Linked DNA regions of Homo sapiens: all the other regions are linked to region 2. Evidence: promoter capture Hi-C in human tissues and cell types (Jung and others, 2019). All regions are on one chromosome and are shown on one strand. The core of a region is centred on a gene start or on the middle of the fragment in contact, and the rest is flanking DNA. Distances in the headings are between cores, read along the strand shown.

Region 1 (4,181 bases), core at 321-2,820, 380 kb before region 2:
CCTTGTCCCCTTTTTATTTATTGGGCAGGGGGAGGGGGAGGGCACAGGCAAGAAGAGATTCACAGTGTCCTGGGGTAAGGGGGGGTTCACAGTAATCATGGTCTACTCCTCTTTCCGTGGCTGGGGGTAGACTTAATAAAGAGAGAAATTCAAGAACTGCTTGCTTTATTTAGGGGTAAGGGCAAAGAGGGAAGTAAAATGATGAAAGATTGGTTTAGAAGGGCCAGGCAGAGGCAGGGAAGAAGCAGAAACTCCCCTCTTCTCAGGTGACAGTCACAAAATCTTACAAAGGATCAAAGCTGGAACAACCCTCCCCTTATTTAAAAAAATTCCATAGCAAGTAACCATCAGGGCTGGAGCTCCTTCCAGTTTTTGAATCTTGAACACAGGTTTCCCCCACCAGAACGTCAAGCCCTGTGACCCAGGGGAGGAAGGAGGGGAGAGGATGGGCTAGTAGCGAGAGAGGCGACACATGTCACACTGGCAGGCCCTGGCCGTGAAGATCTCGAGCTCCTCCCTCCGGCTCCCCACACACTGCAGCTGTACTTTGACCTGCGGGAGAGGGGAGTCCGTGCTGCAGTCCCCTTTCTCAGGGCTGTCTAGGATCTCCATCTCTCTGGTCTTCCCGCGACCCCAGCGTCCATCCACCGGGCCCGGGCCCTCCTCACCTTCTTCAGGCCACTGATGGTGCAGCACTGAGAGACGGAGGTGATGTTGTGTCGGTAACCACTGGCCACCAGCACAGAGTACCGAGAAGGGAAGGCGCTGGACTCACAGTGGCCCACACAGGCCTGTGCCACGTGGGAGCCCTGGCAGGTGCCTTGGCGGTCACTTCGCACTGTCACATTGAAGGCTAGAAGGAGATAGGCAAGCAGTAGACGGCGCCTCTGCCAAGGTTTGCCTCGCCCCAGCTCCCGTTGCCTGTGCCTCAGTGTGGGGCCCTTTAGGGTGCTGCCTGCCCCACCGTCCACTCAGCTCTTTGCTCCCACCCAGAACCTCCACTGCTCCTAGCCCTCCGGTCCCAGAGGTACTCACGGTGCAAGTGGCAGCCTGGGATGACTGCCTCCTGGCCCCAGGCTTCAGTGACTGCCAGGACCAGCAGATAGAGGACCAGGGTTTGAGGGGACGCCATAGGCATCTGAAACACAGTGGGGAGATGTCTCTACGTGGGTGTGCAGGTGGGATGGCGAGTTCTTTAAATACTGCATTCCAGGTGAGTGAGCCAGGGCTGGCTGGTCTGACAGGTGAGGTGTGCCTGAATGGTGCTGCCTTTTCCCTGTATCTGCCTTTGTGTGTGTGTGTGTGTGTGTATGGGTGTGAGTGTGAGCAGCTGTCTCTGGAAAGGACCTGTGTGTCAGCCCTCTGTGCAGTGATTCTCCCTTCCCTGGAATTTTCTTCGCCATCTGGAGCGCAAACATCTTCCTCCCTCCATCTGCCCCATCTTGGCCTGCAGGGCCCTCGTCCACATTCCCAGACCCTCCCCAGAGCTCCTCCTGCCTCAGCGAGCTCACCACTTCCGAGGCCCAGGAACAGAGCGGCTTGCAGTTTTCCTGTGCCTCCTGCTGGTCTCCAGCTTGGTGCTGGCTCTCCAGGCTTTTATTTGCCAGCATTTTGGAGCCACGCCCTCTTGGAGATCGGCTTTCAAACCAGCCTCCCCTGCCTGAAGCCTCAGAGCGATCCCACCTGGGGGATCTTGCTCTTTGAGGTGCGGTCCTCGGAGAGCAGCTCCTGCTGCTTTCTGCTTCTTTCTGTCCAAAAAGCTACCCACAGCCCAGGCCTCGATAAGTCAGATGTGGAGAGAAGCCTAGGAGCTGGTGGAGTGTGCAGCGTGTGTGCAGCTGACGACACAGGGGTCAAGACTCTTGGCTGAGTTGTGGACACCTGGGTTCTCTTTGCTCTGTGACCTTGGACAGAACATTTCCCTGTTCAGGGCCTGATCACCCCTAACTTTATTATTATTTATTACTATTATTTTGAGAGGGTCTGGCTCTGTCACCTAGGCTGGAGTGTGGTGGTGTTATCTCGGCTCACTGCAACCTCCACCTCCCAGCCTCCCAGACTCAAGCCATCCTCCCCCTTAGCCTCCTGAGTAGCTGGGACCACAGGCACACCACTATGACCAGCTAACTTTTGTATTTTTTTGTAGAGACAGGATTTTGCCATGTTGCCCATGGTGGTCTTGAACTGCTAAGCTCAAGTGATCCGCCTGCTTAGGCCTCCCAAAGTGCTAGAATTACAGGCATGAGACACTGTGCCTGGCCACACCCCTAATTTTAAAACCACTAAACTCAGTCCTGCTTGCCTTTTTCTAACTGCAAAGGAAAGGGATTGGGGAAGGAGATTCTTAGGGACAAGGGAAATTATACCAGTGGAGGTCTCCTGAGATGTGCTTGGTGGCAGGGCCGGGGGTTTGGGGGTTGCTGTCTGTTTCAGAGTTGCATGGCCACGGTATCAGTGGATGATTCGCATCCTGTGCTACAGAGTAACGTTCTGAGCTGGAGTGCTCCCCTAGCCCTGGAATAACAGGGACCTGACTCCTGAAAGGGCCTGAAGTTATCAACCCCAGCAAAGCTGATCTATTTGTCCAACTCTGGTTTTATAGATGAGGCAACTAAGGCTCAAAGAAAGAAAGTTACTAAAAGTCACCCAGCTAGTTAATGTTAGGGCTGATTTCAAATTCAAATCTGCTGTCCATCCATGGTGCTAAACTACACTTGAGCAAGAATGTGGCAAGCTGGAGAAAGACCCCCAGGCAGCAGTGGCCAGAGGGGTTGGGGCAAGGTGGAGAGCCAAAGGAAGCCTGTGGTGATTCTGGGCAGCCCCGCTTTGGGGTCATTGCCTCACTGATCTGCTCAGAAAGAGCAGGGCCAGTCACAGACTGCTAGAGCTAGAAGGCACTTTATAACTCACCAAATCCTACCCCCTCATTTTCTGGATGAGAAAATAAGAGCTCAGCGGAAAACAACTTCCCAAAGCTTCACTGTAAGCTAGTCAGAGTCAGGGCGGGCACTCACAGCTCCAGATTTGGAGCTGTGCTTCTTAGCAGCTTTGTAAAACAGGCCATGTTTGGGACAGTCGAGTAAAGGCTGTAAACGCAATTTGAGAGGAAGTGATGTTACTAATGTCACTAATCCTTAAATTCCCACACCCTACGGTTTCCCCATCAGCCCCCATCCCCTCAAGACCTGGGTCCTTGTTTGCCAGGTCCTCCGCAGCAGTCCACCTCTTCTCTTCTCCCCACCAAGGGTGCAGGCAGCATAGCAACAGGACGCAGCGGGAACTCAGCAGTTCAGCCCCTGCTCTCCCACTCTTGAGGGGCACCCTCTGGCATGTGACAGATGATGGCTTCTGTTTAAAGCATTTGGGTGACAAGGCTCATTACCTTATGAGGTAGCCCATTCTAATATTGGACATCTCTAACAGGTAAAAAGTGACTCCTTTGTTGTGAGCTAAAATGAGTTTCCCTACATTTCCATAGATCATTTTGGTTCTCCACGGCCACATGAGGCTAAAGTGTCTATTACAGATCAGTCCTTTAGTTGAAGGCAGCTCAGGTGGCCAGGCCTTCTCCAGGGGTGCCAACCTGGATTGACTTCCAGTTAATCTGATAAACGAATCTGCATTACTGTCAAACAGTTAAAGGGATAGAGAGGTGGGAAACATTTTGTCTATGGAGAGGCAACCATTTGGGGCCAAACTGGAACTGGGGAAGAGGTCTCTTGGGTGAGCAGGGCTCAGGACAGTGAGTCTTGAAAGACCCCATTCCCTAACCTCTGGCACAAACTCACCTACCCAAAGTGATCCTGTGAATAGTAACCAGGTAGACCTAGGGAAGTTTCATGCATTTTCTCTGTATCTTGAGGGAAGCATTTGTTCTCTTTTACTCTATTCCACTAAATTCAATCAATAACTCTTCATAAATAATTTATTGTCATTAGGATCCTAAGTGCCGAAGACAAAAGGCCTAAACCGGCCCTCAGGACATGAACATTTTAGAAAGTTCCATTCTTAATGTTTTAAATTGGGGGAAAAAATCTATTATAAAGGGGCAAAGGACACGATAAAACCACAGAGGACTCAGCATGGGGACCTCATTCCCCACGACTGAAGTGTCATAAGAAAAGGATAGAGTTGGAGGAAGAATGGCTCGGGAGGAGTCACTACAAGAGATGATCCTCTTT
Region 2 (4,157 bases), core at 1,633-4,132:
AGCTACTCGGGAGGCTGAGGCAGGAGAATCGCTTGAACCTAGGAGATGGAGGTTGCAGTGAGCCGAGGTTGCACCACTGCACTCCAGCCTGGGCAATAGAGCAAGACTCTATCTCAAAAAAAAAAAAAAAAAAAGGCCAATGTGTGAGTCTCACTGAGCTAAGATCAAGGTGAGGAGGTGAGGGCAGGGCTGTGTTCCTTCTGGAGCCTCTAGGGTAGATAGGGTAGAACCTGTTTCCTTGTATTTTCCAGCTTCTGAAGCAGTTCCTTGGTTTGGGGCCTCTGCCTCCATCTTCAAAGGCAGCAACACATCATTTCTCTGGCCCTTCAGTCATCACATCTCTCTCTTTTTTTTTTGAGACGGAGTCTCGCTGTGTCACTCCAGCTAGAGTGCAATGGCACAATCTCGACTCACTGCAACCTCTGTCTCCCAGGTTCAAGCGATTTTCCTGCCTCAGCCCCCCAAGTAGCTGGGACTACAGGCACGTGTCACCACACCCAGCTAATTTTTTGTATTTTTAGTAGAGACGGGGTTTCACCGTGTTAGCCAGGATGGTCTTGAACTCCTGACCTTGTGATCCACCCGTCTCAGCCTCCCAAAGTGCTGGGATTACAGGCGTGAGTCGTGAGCCACCACGCCCGGCCTATCACATCTCTTTCTCTGTCTCCTGCTTCTACTTTTAAAAACCCTTGTTATTACACTGGCCCACCCAGATACTTCAGCATAAGCTATTTTAAAGTCAGCTGATTTGCAACCATAATTTCATTGGCAATTTTCTTTTTTTTCTTTTTTTTTTTTTTGAGACGGAGTCTCGCTCTGTCGCCCAGGCTGGAGTGCAGTGGTGCGATCTCGGCTCACTACAAGCTCCGCCTCCCAGGTTCATGCCATTCTCCTGCCTCAGCCTCCTGAGTAGCTGGGACTACAGGCGCCCGAGTAGCTGGGACTGCAGGTGCCTGCCACCATGCTCGGCTAATTTTTTTTTTTTTTTGTATTTTTAGTAGAGACGGGATTTCACCATATTAGCCAGGATGGTCTCGATCTCCTGACCTCGTGATCCACCTGCCTTGACCTCCCAAAGTGCTGGGATTACAGGCATGAGCCACGGCGCCCAGCCCTCATTGGCAATTTTCATTTCCATTTCTCATGTAACAAAACATATTCATAGATTACACAGGTTCGGATGTGGGCTTTTTTTCTTTTCTTTTTTTTTTTTTACATGGGTTTTTGCTCTATTGCCCAGGCTGGAGTGCAGTGGCGTGATCACAGCTCACTGCAGCCTTAACCTCCCAGGTTCAAGCAATTCTCCTACCTAAGCCTCCAGAGTACCTGGGACTACAGGCTTGAGCCACCATGTCCGGCTAATTTATTTGTTGTAGAAACAGGGTCTCACTATGTTGCTCAGGCTGGTGTCAGTGTCAAACTCCTGGACCCAAGCAATCCTCCCACCTTGGCCTCCCAAAGTGCTGGGATTATAGGCATGAGCCACAGCACCTGGCTAGATGTGAACATATTTAGGGGGGCTGTTATTTTACCTACCATGATCCCCTTCTTCCCATCCGGACCTCCCAGCTTGTCTGGCATCTTCCCCCACCCCCAGCATCCTGCCTCCCCCACTGAGGTCTTCCCGGCTCTGCCTCCCTAAAAGCCCTTCCCACACTGACAGCATTGAAGCCAACCATCCTGGTCACACTGAGCTGGCATAGCTGTCATCCTCTAGAAAGTGAGGTCTGTCCACCCCGTCACTACCCACCACTTCCTCTGCCCCACTCTTCTTAGCACTTACCCACCTGGAAGGGTATCATGATGTACCTGGGAACTTGGATTTCCCCCATTTCCCTTCTCTGGGCTGCAGGTCCCAATCCAGAGGCTGAATCCCCAGGGACAAGAACAGCGCTAGGCACTTGGTAGATACTCAACAAATCTCTCTTGAGTCACTGAGAGGTGCAGTTTCCTTCAGTCTGTCTCCAGCACCCTGTGCGGTGCCTGCCCTTCAAAACATGTTTCTGGGCCGGGCGCGGTGGCTCACGCCTGTAATTGCAGCACTTCGGGAGGCCGAGGCGGGCAGATCACTTGAGGTCGGGAATTCGAGACCAGCCTGGCCAACATGGAGAAACTCCGTCTCTACTAAGAATACAAAAATTAGCCAGGTGTGCTGGCACATGCCTGTAATCCCAGCTACTCGGGAGGCTGAGGCAGGAGAATCTCTTGAACCCAGGAGACGGAGGTTGCGGTGAGCAGTCTGGGCAACAAGAGCGAAACTCTGTCTCAAAAAAAAAAAAAGTTTCTGGCCCTGTAGGAATGACTGACTGACTGACTGAAAGAATGAATGGACCAGGAACTAGTCTGAATATGAGCCCCACCTTCACTCTGGAAGCCTGACAGCAAAGACGGGGGTCCAGGCCACGCGGCCTCTGCCTTCCCATACTGTCTTTTCTAGTGGGAGGTAAACTGATCAACTAGCTTGTAAGTTTGTAGTATTCTAACGTAGGCGCTTCCAAGGAAGTCGCTGAATATACTTGTGCCGGCGCTTCCCCGACGCAGCCCTGCAGGGAAGGATCCGGTCCAAGGTCTCTCTGCGATTTCTGAAGAATTCGGTCTTCCCGGAGCCTCTCCCCCGGCTCTTCTAGAACCGAAGGTTTTAGTTCCCATGGGCACAGCCGGAGGCCGCCTGCGCCACCCGGCCCTCAGCCGCCAGAACCAGGACAGGACTCCAGGGCGCGCGCGACCGCTGGACCCGGGAGCGGCACCTCCCACGCCGGGAGCCCCGGGCGGTGCCCGGAGTGGGGCGGGGCCTGGGCGGGGATGGGGAGGGGCTTGGCTGGCGCGGCCCCGGCATTGGCTCCGCGGGCCGGGGCGGGGCTGCGGGGTCCGCGGTGCACTCTGTAAGTTCACCGCCGGTCGGGTCCGGCCGCCGCGCTGTCCAGCTCCTGAGACCTTGCTGTCCGCCGGTCTGCCGTCTGCGCGCCTCACGGTGAGTTCGGGCTGGGATTTTCGCAGCTTCGCGGGGGTCCCCCGAGAGGCCCATCTCTGTGGCGCCCCGCCCCAGCTCGCGCCCTGGCTCTGCCTCTCACCTCACTCAGTTCCTTTCGAGGGCTCCTAGGGCTCCATGGGGCTTCCCACCCGCATCTGGGTTCCCGCAGCCTCGCCCGTGCCCGCCACGGTCCGTGGGGGCGCAACGCATCCCGACCCCGAATTCCCCGTTCTGCCCTCCATTTTGTGTCCGGGCCCCCGCCCCCCTCCCGAGACCCAGGGGTGCCCCGCCGCCCAGCATCCCCACCGGGGCTGGGGGCCGTATTTTTAGCCGATAGTGAGTTGTTCTCCTATCTTTAGCTGCGGCCGCGAATGTCCTGAAACGGATCCGGGCTGGGCTGGGCTCCGCCCGGGTAGGAGTGGGGAGGGGTCGGCGCAGGAACCCGAGCCGGAGCTAAGGAGCCGGACCCGTGGGAGGGGCGGGGGCCCGCACGCCCGAGCTCTGGCCCTGTGCCGAGCGGACACTAGGACATCGCCCAGGCCGGAAAGCACAGGGGGGAGGCTCCTCCCAGAGCTTGGAGACTAGGGCAGGGTCCCCAATCGCCCCCTTTTTCCCCGATTGTGGGACCAGAAACCCCGAAGCAAAAAGATCTCGCAGGTAATCCCCATCTGGTACTTGAACGCGCAGCTCCTTGGGGACCGCCTGCCTGGAGCCCGGGGGAGGGGCGCTGGAGACCCCGGTGCGCTCTCGGAGTCCTCCGGGACACGAGGCGATCAAGGGAGCACGCGCGCCACCTGGCGGCCGCGGAGCCGGGCACCTCTCCGGAGGCACCGGGACCCCGGGAGACCCAGCGGCCGCTAGAGGGTCTCTGCATCCTCGAGGTCTAGGAGGGCGGGAGGAGGTGGACGCCTGGGGTCAGGAGCCCTTCGTTTTTGCTATTGTTCAAAGCACTGGCCCCGGAGAATCGAAGTGCTTGAGGAAGGAAGGCCTTGTAGATATTTGCTGAATGAATGATAAAACCTACAGTGACCCGCTGAACCCCGCTATTGTACATTGGCGCTCTCACCTGCAATATTGCAGTGGGATCTCCAGTGGCCCTTTAGTGGTGGCTTCGTTGTCAGCCCATTTTATAGATGGGAAAGGTGAGACCCAGAGAGGAGAGGCGTCTTGCTGAAGGTTACTGAGG
Region 3 (4,465 bases), core at 1,278-3,777, 470 kb before region 2:
CTGGACCTCCCTGGACCCCTGGCCCCAGACTCTAGGCAGCCTCCATCCCAGGGGCTGATGGGACTTGTAGTCCTGCCCAGTCTGCGGCCTGACTCTGCTTGGCCAGGTCACCCTGGGGACCATGGGGACACCATTCCTACCCCCACCTCACAGTTCTTGGCCCCCTCACAGGTTCAGGCCAGGGCCTGTCTTAGGAAACTGGACGGGTGACATTCCTTATCCCCAGAGAGGCTTCTCTCCCATTCAGGAGCTGTGGGCCTGGGTCCCGGGACCCTGTAGGCATAGAGGTGCCTGGTTGGGGGTGAGGCCTGCAGCCCCTAGGGCAGGGAGGACAGGCTCTATGCTTCCCACGTGGGGCCCCTCAGGCTGGAGGCATGGATGCCAGTCTGCCAAGGTGCTGAGACTCACAAACAGGACAAAGATGCCTTTCCCTGGTGCTAGCACTAGCCCCTGAAGGCGTGAGTGCTCAGGATGCCTCCAGGCCTGACCGGCTCTCTCACTCCCAGCCCTGCCTCCCTGTCTGGACGAAGCTTTTGTCTGGTCAAGAACGTCCTCTTTCCTCACATCCCAGATACCTCCAGGAAGGGCAACTCCAGCCACTCCCAGGCACTTTCCAGGCCTGGATTAGCCCCAGGTTTTGGGAAGGAATTGGGTCTTAGGGAGGCAGGAGTGATCAGTCAGGATGGGGGGCAGCTGTGGTCTGGCGCCCTGCCTCAGTTTCCCCCTGCCAGGAGGTAAACTCCCTGCCAGCTGGGCGGGTCTGTGGGTGGGACAGAGAGCTGTTCCACAGGTTTATCAGGCAGAAGCCCGCAGCGGGGGCGGGGTGGAAACCTCATTACAGAAATTCATTGTCTCTTTCCCAGGTCTGTGTGTGGAGCTGGGGAGGAGCAGCCCCGGGCCTCCCCGTGGGAGTTGAAGCCAGCACCATAGGGACCCACCCGCCAGAAGAGGGCCGAAGCCCAGGCCCACAGGCAGGAGGATCCAGGCCCCTGGACAGGCTGCCTAATCCTCTGGCCTCCCACAGGGCATGGGGGCTCCGGGCAGGAGCAGGGACAAGTAGAGACAAGCAGGAGAGGAATGAGTCACAGCCCTTTGAGTTACCTTGGGAGATTGTCAACAGAGGGCCCCCATGCCGGGGTCCCAGGCAGAGGTGCTGGAGGCAGTCAGGGAGGAGCACACATGTGTGTGCAAACACACACACGTGTGTGGGTGTCATGGGGGGGGTGACAACAACACAGGCAGACAGGCATAGCACGGAGGCATACCAGGGAGACAGGCACAGAGGCAGGGGCCTCTGACTGCCTCGCCCTGGATGGAAGGGTTGGGGCTAGGGGACAACTCCCTGGCACATCTAGGTGGCAGCCTCCCCCTCTACCCCAGGCCTTGTGCCTTCCCAGAGCTCAGGAGTGCCAGGAACGCTAGTTGCCCACTGGGCAAACACCTGCCTCACCCCGCCCTGGCCAGGCCCCCGTGCCTTTTCCCCATGGCCCGGCAGGGTGTGACCAGGGAACCCTCCAGCTGGCGCCAGTGCCCACAGTGGGTTCAGGGTCACCCCGGGCCAGCCACTCCCAATGACTCAGATGAGTCTACCAGGAAAGGTACAGACCCATCTCCAGCTAGGCCCCCCTCCCCGGCCCCGGCGCCACAGCCCCCAAGGAGCTTGGCCAGCAGCCTGCACAGGCCAAGGGTTGGAGATCGGTTCCTGAGTCCAGGCTGCAGTGGTCTTGTACCCAGGGAGCTGGGGGTGTGTGTGTTGGTGGGGGGAAGGTCTGCAAGTGTGCGATACCTACAGATCTGTGTGTTTTGCAGTGCCAATGCGGTCGGGGTGGTCTGCAGCGCTCCCTGGGTCTCTCCATGAGTTGTGTGTCTCAATGCATCCGAGAGGAAGGAGAAACAGAGCCCGTGTATCAGTGGGTGACATGCATGAGGGTCTGTGTGTGTCCTGCGTCAGGTGTGGCCTGTAAGCAAGGAAATCTGTAAGGGACTCTAGGCGGTGCACTGGGTACATGCGTCTGCGGTCGATACCTGAGCACAAGTTGGTATGTGTGTGCATGTGTCGGGGTCTGTGAGAGGGAGAGAGCGTGTGTGAGAATTGGAGTGAGGGTGAGGTGTGCAGGCGAGTGTGCGGGCCGCGGGGGTCCGGTGGTACGCGTCAGGGCCACTGCAGGGAGTCTGCGAGGGAAGCCCGTGGGGGTGCGGGTCCCTGCGGGAAAGTCTGCGGGTGCGGGGGTCTCGGCGCGATATCCCTAGGCCCGCCCCCGCTCCGTGCCGCCCCGCCACTCACCCCAGCTCAGGAACTGCGCCACGCTGCGCTCCCGCCGTAGGGGGCCGCTGCTGAGCTCGTGGTGCAGCGCCAGCAGCAGATCTAGGAGGCCGTCGAGCCCCGGGCAGCCGCCGGCCTCGCCCCGCGCCAGCTGCTCCAGCGCGCGCAGCCGCCGCTCCATGGCTGCGGCCGGAGCCTCGCTGCTCGGCTACAGTCTGGCCGCCCGCATGCCCGCCTGTCGGGCCGTCCGTCCGCCCAACCGTCTGAGGCTCTGTCCGCGCGTCCTCCCCCGCCCCTCTCCCGCCCTCCCCGCTGTCACCTTCCTCCGCCGCCGCCAGCGCGCCCTCACCTGGGCGCCGCGCCCCGCCCCCCGACGGACGGGCAGGTGCGCGCCGGCCAATGGGAGCCGCGGCTAGAGGTGAAGGTGGGGGCGGAGGCGCGCGGGGGCGGGCCCAACTCCCGGCCAGGAAGTGCGGGGGCGGGCCGGGGAGAACAACTGACTTCTGCGCGGGGCGCGGTGGGGTTCTGCGGGGTCGGAAAGACTCCCCAGATCCCCGCGCGGCCCCAGACCCAGACTTACCTGGGCCCTCCCTGGGCCCTGACCCAGGAGGCGCGGAGCACTGCAACTTCTCTCGCCCCCTGGGTCGCAGCCGCCTTGCCCTTGGCTAAGAGAGAGGGGCTAGGGACGCCCGCGGCCCCGGAGCCGGATGGGAATTGTAGTTCGCTCTCTCCATGGTTTGCCCGCGCTTGGCACCCATCGCCCCCCCGCCCCCGCCCAAAAAAAAGTTTCTGAATCTTACTTTGATTGTATCATTAGAGTTGATGTGGGAGACAGGAAGTTGGGGTAGGGATGGTCACGCCCATTTGGCAGATGGACACACTGAGGCTTGGGAAGGAGGAAGGCGAATTGAGGGGCTGAGGACAAGGTGGCTCTTAAGTTAGACCCTGGGGTGGAGGTGGAGCTGGGCTGGTACCAACACCACAGGCGTTTTAAGCTTCAGTAGGAGCAGGGCCTGAGGTCTGACCTGGAACGTGAAGGGCAAGGAGAGGTCTGAGATAGGCTGGAGGAGGTTGGGGAGGGGAGGGGCTGGCTCTGTCCAGTGGTATTTCTGATTTCTGTCCAGCTGGGATGGACCAGGCACCATGAGGAGAGATCAAAGGGTGGGACATATTGGTGGCTTCAGACAACACTTTTTTTTTTTTTTTTTTGAGACAGGGTCTCTCTGTCACCCATGCTGGAGTGCAGTGATGCAATCATAACTCACTGCAGCCTTGACCTCTTAGGCTCCTGCCTCAGCCTCTTGAGTAGCTGGGATTACAGGCAGATGCCACCACACCCAGCTGATTTTTTATTTTACTTTTTGGAGTCAAGGGTTATTGTTATGTTGACCAGGCTGGTCTCGAACTCCTGGGCTCAGGTAATCCTCCCACCTTGGCCTCCCGGAGTTCTGGGATTACAGACATGGGCAACTACACCCGGCCTAGACAACACTTCTTTCTCTTTTTTGAGACAGGGTCTCACTCTGTCCCCTAGGCTGGAGTGCAGTGGTGCAATCGTAGCTCACCACAGCCTCAACCTCCTGGGTTCAAGTGATCCTCCCACCTCAGCCTCCCGAATAGCTGAGACTACAGGCTCACACCACTAGGCCAGGCTGATGTTTTGTTTTTTGAGATGGTGTCTCACGCTGTCACCCAGGCCAGAGTGCAGTGGCACGATCTCGGCTCACTGCAACCTCTGCCTCCCAGGTTCAAGAGAGTCTCCTGCCTCAGCCTCCCAAGTAGCTGGGATTATAGGCATGTGCCACCACACCCAGCTAATTTTTGTATTTTTAGTAGAGATAGGGTTTTGCCATGTTGGCCAGGCTGATCTCAAACTCCTGACTTCAGGTGATCCTTCTGCCTCGGCCTCCCAAAGTGCTGGGATTACATGCGTGAGTCACTGGGCCCAGCCATGTTTGTATTTTTTATAGAGATGGGGTTTCGCCATGTTGCCTAGGCTGATCTCAAACTCCTGGACTCAAGTGATCTGCCTGCCTCAGCCTCCCAAAGCGCTGGGATTACAGGCTGTAGCCACTGGCCAACACATTATTTCATTAAAAGACCTGTTTAGGGGTTTGCCTCTCCTCTCGTACTGGGACCTCGCTGAGATGGGGGCAGGATCAGGTTGAGGGAGGAGGTGTTCCATGAATGTTTGAAGCAAAC

The links. Contacts are between HindIII fragments. The study calls those that stand out against the background at their distance.
Region 1: the fragment with the promoter of GPHA2 here is called in contact with the fragment with the promoter of CDC42EP2 in region 2 in 3 of the 25 tissues and cell types used here (dorsolateral prefrontal cortex, lymphoblastoid cells and spleen).
Region 3: the fragment with the promoter of CDC42BPG here is called in contact with the fragment with the promoter of CDC42EP2 in region 2 in 1 of the 25 tissues and cell types used here (lymphoblastoid cells).

The regions. Positions count from the first base shown.
Region 1 is chr11:64,934,323-64,938,503 of GRCh38, forward strand. GPHA2 (glycoprotein hormone subunit alpha 2) reads right to left here and starts at 1,571. Exons shown (of 4, transcript NM_130769.4): 1 at 1,512-1,571; 2 at 1,036-1,138; 3 at 669-853; 4 at 149-552. The coding sequence starts at 1,138. The coding sequence ends at 451. PPP2R5B (protein phosphatase 2 regulatory subunit B'beta) reads left to right here. Exons shown (of 14, transcript NM_006244.4): 14 at 1-153. MAJIN (membrane anchored junction protein) reads right to left here. Exons shown (of 11, transcript NM_001037225.3): 11 at 3,908-4,181. The HindIII fragment of the contact is 7,271 bases long and covers 1-4,181 here.
Region 2 is chr11:65,311,984-65,316,140 of GRCh38, forward strand. CDC42EP2 (CDC42 effector protein 2) reads left to right here and starts at 2,883. Exons shown (of 2, transcript NM_006779.4): 1 at 2,883-2,971. LOC105369344 (a long non-coding RNA gene) reads right to left here and starts at 2,706. Exons shown (of 3, transcript XR_007062727.1): 1 at 1,788-2,706. RefSeq lists silencers at 2,541-2,920, 3,381-3,510, 3,681-3,840. The HindIII fragment of the contact is 18,736 bases long and covers 1-4,157 here.
Region 3 is chr11:64,842,126-64,846,590 of GRCh38, forward strand. It overlaps CDC42BPG (CDC42 binding protein kinase gamma), which reads right to left and starts at 2,528. Exons shown (of 37, transcript NM_017525.3): 1 at 2,285-2,528. The coding sequence starts at 2,444. RefSeq lists enhancers at 1-378, 872-1,166, 1,191-2,003 and silencers at 2,218-2,267, 2,298-2,347, 2,358-2,707. The HindIII fragment of the contact is 4,484 bases long and covers 1,895-4,465 here.